Linked DNA regions of Homo sapiens: region 1 is linked to region 2. Evidence: promoter capture Hi-C in 16 types of primary human blood cells and fetal thymus (Javierre and others, 2016). All regions are on one chromosome and are shown on one strand. The core of a region is centred on a gene start or on the middle of the fragment in contact, and the rest is flanking DNA. Distances in the headings are between cores, read along the strand shown. Region 1 holds the start of PEX2 (peroxisomal biogenesis factor 2). Region 2 holds the start of NCOA2 (nuclear receptor coactivator 2).

Evidence for each region. Contacts are between HindIII fragments. The CHiCAGO score rates a contact against its expected background, and 5 or more counts as called.
Region 1: a contact is called between the fragment with the promoter of PEX2 here and the fragment with the promoter of NCOA2 in region 2, in 1 of 17 cell types (non-activated CD4 T cells). The highest score is 10.8, in non-activated CD4 T cells.

Annotation. Positions count from the first base shown.
Region 1 is chr8:76,998,674-77,001,873 of GRCh38, reverse strand. It overlaps PEX2 (peroxisomal biogenesis factor 2), which reads left to right and starts at 1,796. Exons shown (of 4, transcript NM_000318.3): 1 at 1,796-1,884. RefSeq lists an enhancer at 1,507-1,801. The HindIII fragment of the contact is 1,935 bases long and covers 1-1,825 here.
Region 2 is chr8:70,402,237-70,405,671 of GRCh38, reverse strand. NCOA2 (nuclear receptor coactivator 2) reads left to right here and starts at 1,864. Exons shown (of 23, transcript NM_006540.4): 1 at 1,864-1,972. RefSeq lists silencers at 1,088-1,247, 1,938-2,247, 2,288-2,577, 2,608-3,267 and an enhancer at 1,348-1,467. The HindIII fragment of the contact is 4,231 bases long and covers 572-3,435 here.

The DNA of each region.
Region 1 (3,200 bases), core at 547-3,046, 6.6 Mb before region 2:
AACTGTTGCATGTTTCCCCGCATTCTTAATGAGATTCATTAAATATGATTCAAGTTTCTTGATATCTTTATTATTTTCATTCGCTACTGTGTGATGTTCACATGACATACATAAGGCTCTATGAACCAGAATTTGCTTTCTGAAAATGTCCTCTATGTCAATCAAGTCTTTGTGTGTATTTTCCCCCGTCCCTCTCAAAAATTAAGTGAAGCACAGCACATCTGTAGGCTACCTGAGAGGTGCAGCGTGGTTGGTTTTCTTCACAGTTGCTAAACGAAAGGCCTACTCTTCTTCAGTGAGATTTTTTTACTCTCTAGAACAGCAGTATCCATAGAAATATAATGGAAGCCACGTAATTTAAAATTTTCCAAAACATTCTCATTTTGACATGTAAGCAATATAAAATTAATGAAATACTTTACATTCTTTTTCTTTTCAGACCACGCTTTAGAAATCTGGTGCATGTTCTACACTTAGAGCAGACCTCAGTTCAGACTAGCCACTTTTCAGGTGGCCAGTGACTACTACACTGGACAGTTGCAGCTCTAGAAAATCCACTCCCAAACCCCTAAGTGAACTACATACTCTATCAATTTGTAGCTTCTACTCTATCTCATTTGTACCATTGTTTCACAATTTGGATAGCATTAGAGTTAATAAATTTTATTTTAGCAACTCTGCTCCATGGGTAGTTTCTGAAATAAAAATACAAGCAAAAAAAAAAAAACTTTCCTAATAACACTGGTTCTACAGTATAAGCTCTCCCTCGAATGTCTAATAGAGCTTTCGTAGAAGTGAGTGTTCCTTGTAGGAACGGTGAGTCGAGACTGGAGGTAAGAACTAAGACGTTCTTAAACCCTACTACGTGCTGGAATCCTGAAGTGCCTGCCATCATTCAAACTTAAGCACTAACTCTCTAGAGAGACACTGCCATTCATACCACAGAACGAGAAGGCAGTGGCGATCCTCAACGGCTACATGTCACTGCCTGGTGAGCACTCTTCCCTCAGACCCCATTCCCAGAAGCTCTGCCTCGATTCCCCAGGGGTAGGCGAGCTGGCTGCCCGAATTCCTAAGCGTTACCGGGGAGATGTGAGGGCCTCCGGGGGCGGGAAACCTCAGGCCAGGCGCGCGCTGGCCCGCTCTACGGGGTCTCTCGGGAGCGCTTTGCAGGGCGGATGACTGACGGGCCAGCTACCTGCCTTCCTGAGCCTGCAGAGATAAACAGCCTATCCTCCCTGTGCACACAGGCCCCGAGGGCGGGCAGGTCTCCAAGCGCAGCACAACTGCCCCAGGCCCGACGCAGCCACCTGCCCGAGGGCTCCCTCCCCACCAGGCCATCCCTCAGCCGGTCCTCCTCCGACAGCGAACAAGGAACCCCGGAGGCGCGGAGGCGTCTCGCCGCCACCCGGCGGCGCCTGCCAGAGGCCCTTCGCGATGTCCGCAAGCAGAGAAAGCCCTGCCCTCCCAAGCCCCGGCTTCCCCTAGGCCCCTCGACACTTGTAGTGTCCTCACTTGCGGCCCCTGACCCGGGGCTGACCGGTTCGTGACTCTCCTGCCAATCAGAGACAGAGTTCTTCCGGCCAACCGGCCAATCACCGCGCGCGGGTGTCCGCTTCGGCTTTTCGGCCCTTCGGCTCTTCGGCTTGTCGGCGTTCGCGGTTGTTTGGCCATCCAGTGCCTTCAGCAGCGCCGCTAAAGCGCAGTTCTCGTTGGTGTAACTTTTTCTTTTTTTTTTCAGCCACTTCCGGCTCCTGCGTCGCTCCGGAAGCCTGCGAGTTCCGGAAGCCTTGGTAATCCAGATTCGGCTAGGAAAAGACAAGCTTTCCAGAGAATGTTTCAGAGAAAGTTACGTGGAGCGTGGGCGTTTCGCAGACTCCTAAGGTCAGTGTCTGCCCTAGAGAGCCGGAGTGCAAACCCGAGGTCTTGTTTTCAGCTGGGAGGTCGTGGAGTTTCACGACCTTGTAATTGTCGCCGTTTGCTTTTTTTTCCCTGTTTATTGGCTTCCTGTCTCCCTGGAAAAGGCAAATCAAAGCTGCTGAATTTTGGGAAAGGCAGTGAAGCAAACCTAAACTCCTAAAGATGTTTTTAGGATCGCGGCATTAAAAATAAACACACACACAGCTGCAGTTGAGCCCCTCTGCATTCCACGTAGTAACTTAAGAGACGAACTTCGAAATCTTTTTCTCTCATTTGGCGGTCGTGAAGATATTTACCTCTTATAAACGGCTTTATAAAGAATTGAGGATCCAAACTTTACTTAATATCTGAAAGTTCATGTAAAGTGTTATATGTAGTACAAAAAATTTGAGTGCTTAGTTTTCTAACACTGTTGAAAGCGCACGTAAATGCAGTTTGGTTTTCTTATGGAGGAAGAGATAATGAAAAGTTTCTGATAAAATTGCTTGCGATAAATTAGTTATATTTCACGTTGACTTTTGATAAGAAATCTGAATGTGAGAATTGTTAACATTTTTTCCTGGGTTCTTAAATTAAAAATCGTTGTTTGTTTATTTATTGAGGTACCATTTTCCAAATTTCCCACATTTAGTGAAAGGGCTTTTGGCAAAATGAGCAAGCTGTTGAACGTTCAAGTCTAACACATTCTGTTAAACTTCCGTGATGCCCCTCGGAAATATTTTATCTTGACGTTTCGGACAATTAAATGATACTTGGGCGCTCACAACACCGCAGCTTGTAGTCTAAACACCTTCCCCTAAAGTGTTACCTTTACTTAATCCTGAACAGAATGAACTTGGGGTGGCTCTTTTAACTTATCTGATCTCACCTATATTATCAATTACTTGTTTCCAGAAAGATTACAGTTGAGTGATCTTGAGCCAGAAAGAGATTTGAAAGAATTATTTACAGAGTCAAAAAAAAAAACCCTTCATATTTTTTTCTTAAAAAAAAAAATAGAAGTAACAGGACATAGAGCGAATACTAGACTAGTAGACTGAAGAGTATTAGACTAAATCAAGACAGTTGGATTCTAGTCCTGACTCTAGTTGCCTTTGTACAATTTTACCTCTTGGCCGTATTCTCCTTATTTTTAGAAACTAGTGTTAGTACTCAAGCTGGGGTTTTAAAACTGTTCCATAGGAGAACTTGTGTAGAAATTTTCTGGAGCCGTGCAGGGAGAGACAAAGCAAGCCCACCCTCAGGTTTATTTTAACAAGAGCAGCCATTTAGGTGTTCCG
Region 2 (3,435 bases), core at 615-3,114:
TTTATTATCACAACTCCTGATAACTCACAGTTGGGGGTGAGGACAGGAAAGCAAATCGGGAGTTCAGAATTGTGACAAACCTCAGGTGACTACTACCCCATTGTAGACAAGCTACAGACTGGTATTAGCAGAAGATAGGCCATAAACAAACTCTCCATTTCCTCTCAACGCTTTGGGAACATAATTCTATTATTCCAGCTAGCTAAAAAAAAAAAAAAAAAAAAAAAAAAAAAACCTTTAAAAATATACATTAATACATAGTCAATGCAAACATTTCAAACATTAGATAGGTGTGCAAAATAAAAAGTGGAAGTGCCTCATCACCCACTTCTTACACTCCCCAGCGCTAACATTTGTTGTTATAGGCTTCCAAGCATTTTCTATCCACAAACAAACACAGACACACACACCCCACACATTTTTTTTATTCTTTTCCCAAATAAAATTGGCGGTACACCCACAAATTTTAGGATGAAGACATGTTTAAAAGCATGGGCTTTGGAGCTCACCAGAACTGGGCTCACATCCTCTCCAACTACTGGCTGTGACCCTGGGCAAATTACTTTAAGCTTCAATTTTTTGTGTGAAGTGAAAAGCGGCAATGACTTCGGAAGGTTTGAGGATTAAGGCCTATAGCATATATACATCACCTAGCACAGTCAGATTCACAGTAAGTGTTCAATAAACACTCTTATTGTCTACCGCAAGTGACCTTTCTCATTATAAGATTAAAATCAGGGAATATGTTCCTCTCATAGTTTGATAACTGCCATTAAACAAAAGTTTTTTTTTTCAACTAATTACCGTATAAGTTGGAAAAAAAACTTGCTTTTCCAAAGCGTAAAACAGATTGGTCTAAGTAACACTTAAATGGGGGTTCTCGCATTTTCAGTGCCAATCTCCTACGTCCCCTCAGTACTTTGTTCACGGATGTCTAGAGAATGGACTTTCCAATACAAACTTATGATTTCATGATGTGCCGAAAATTCTCAACCAGGTTAAGTTTCACACTCTGTGTGCAGCATTTGCTTTATCCCGCAATTGCCGGGTGGTGCCCCTTCCAGCTCCCACAGTCGCGCCTCTCCATCCCCTCTGGAGCTAGGACTGCAATGGGAGAAGCCTCTCCCTGTTGGAGCCGTAGGGGACTTGACGGATGCGGGGCGCCTCCGGGGAGCAGCGGCAGGACCGGGAGTTGGGTAGGGTGAGGTGCGCCCGAGGGGGTGCAGGGTGCTGGCCGAAGGGTCCGGCCGGACGGGCGCGAGGGTCCTCTGCTGGCGACCCTGGAACTCGGCTCTCCCCGATCTTCGTCCTGGGGCACCGTCCCTGCCGTCTGCAGCCCCCAGGCCCCACTGCCTCTAACTCAGCGGCCCAGGCCCGTCCCAGTCGCTAGTTTTCTTTTTGGCATTGCCCTTTGCCCTCCCATGCAGTCCTCTGTTGACTCTCTCTTCAGTTCCAGTCACCTCTAGGTCACCCTCCCTCTACCACAGTCACCCATTTTGTCCCCTGTCCCCTTACTCTTCTTCACCTCTCCCCGGGCCGCCTTCTCAGAGGACTCTGCCGACGGAGATGCTGCGGACCCCGCGGCCAGGGGCTGCTCCCCGGACAACCCTGCGTCCACCTTTGCCCCTTCCTCGGGGGCGCGAGAGGCAAGTTTCCGCCCCGTCCTTTTCCCGGTGACAGGACTTGGCGGCGGCCACTGCCGGGGAGGCAGAGGGAGGGACGGCCTGGCTCCCGAGCCCCCTCCCCTGCTCGCGAGCTCGCGCTGTCTGTCTCTCCGCAAGTGCGGAGACGCGGAGGAGGAGGAGGAGGAGGAGGAGGAGGAGGGAGTTGGGGGAGGATCTCCATTGAAATAAACAACCAGGCAGCAGTTATTAACACGGGAACATGGCGGCCGCAGCCTCGGCTACAGCTTCGGCGGCGAAGGTCAGCGCCGACGGCAGCCGGCACCTGACGGCGTGACCGACCCGAGCCGGTAACCGCGCCTTCCCCCGGGGCCGCGAGGGCGGGCGGGGGGCGGGCGGCAGGCGGGGGGCGCCGCGTCCCCACCCCCGGCCGCGACTGCCCTTCCTGCGCCGAGCTCCGACAGAGCCGTGCGCCTCCGAGAGGCTGTTTTTGTGTGCGGGGACCGCCGCCGGAGTGCGCGGAAAACGGGAGTTGCATCCCGGAGGCGCAGCGACGCTGGGGAGTTGGGGCTTGGGGGTGGGGAGGGCGGGAAGCGACGGGGAGACGCGGAGTCCCCGGGAGAGAAAGGAGGCGCTCCAGCGCCTTGCGAGAGCTCAGGAGACGAGTCCCGGAGCGCGAGGCGGGCGGAGGCTGCAGCCCGCGGCGCGGGCGAGAGGTGAGCGCCGAGGCGCGGCCGGGGGTGCGGGCGCGGCCCCCGCCCCGAGGAGCGAGTGCCCATTGCCCAGCCCGGTGCGGGGTCGGCGGAGACCGAGGCTCTAACCCCTCGGGGGCAGCGCGGCAGAGCCGAGAAGGTGAATCCTGGGAAGGTGCATTCTTTAATGGAAGCGCGGAGCGGCTGCAGCGGAGAGTGGGAGCCGGGCGAGGGGAGGCAGGACTCGGGAAGTGCTGGGGGTGTGTGAAGGTGAAGCGGGGTGTCGGGGCGGCCGGCGAGCTGCAGCGCGGGGCGGGGAAGGGGAGCCGCGGCCCGGCGGGTGGCCCGGGCCCGTGTCAGCCCCGGGGGTGGGGGGCGAGGGGCGCCGAGCACCGCGGGCGGACGGGAAGGAGCTGCGGCGGGCGGGGCGGGCGGCGCGCTGGGGCCGAGCAGGCCGGGCCGTGGTGGGGGCGGGGAGCCGGGGGCCGGGCCCCGGCGGCGCCGAGCCGGGCTCGCCCCTGACTGAACTTTCTGGGTGCGGGCGTGTATGCAGGAGGCGCGCTGGGGCCGGGGCCGGGGGCGGGAGGCGGACCGGGAGGTTCCGGGTTGGCTCGCCAGCGCCCCCTTTTCTCGCCCCCTTCTCTCCGCCCCTGAAGGGACAGGCCCTCGGGGCCCCAGGCGGGAAGCGGGAGGGGCCCTGTGGCCGCCTCGCGACGGTCACGCCCCGGGCACGGGGACCCGGCCCTCTCGGGCCCCTGGGGGGTGCTGGGGGAGGGGGCCGGGGTCGTCGCTGCCGGCTGCGCTCCCCGCCTCCTCCCCTCGGGGGAGTCCCAGAGGCGCCTCTTCCGAGACCGGGGGTGGGTCGGTCCCTGGTTAGATGGCCCCTCCCTCTTCCCCTCCCTCTAGTGGTTTCCGGGGCCTGCGGGACCGAGGGGCGGGAATCGGGGACTGGAGCCCCCTTCCGCTGGCCCGGAGCTGGACTGGGCCTCCCGCGTTCTGGGTCCGTCACTGGTAGGGGAAACTTTCCCAAACCAGAGACCGAGCCTGAACACCTTCCTCCGCCACCTCGTCCTCTAATCCCACTCCCTCTCCACCTCCTCCGACGCCTTCCCCTCCCACCG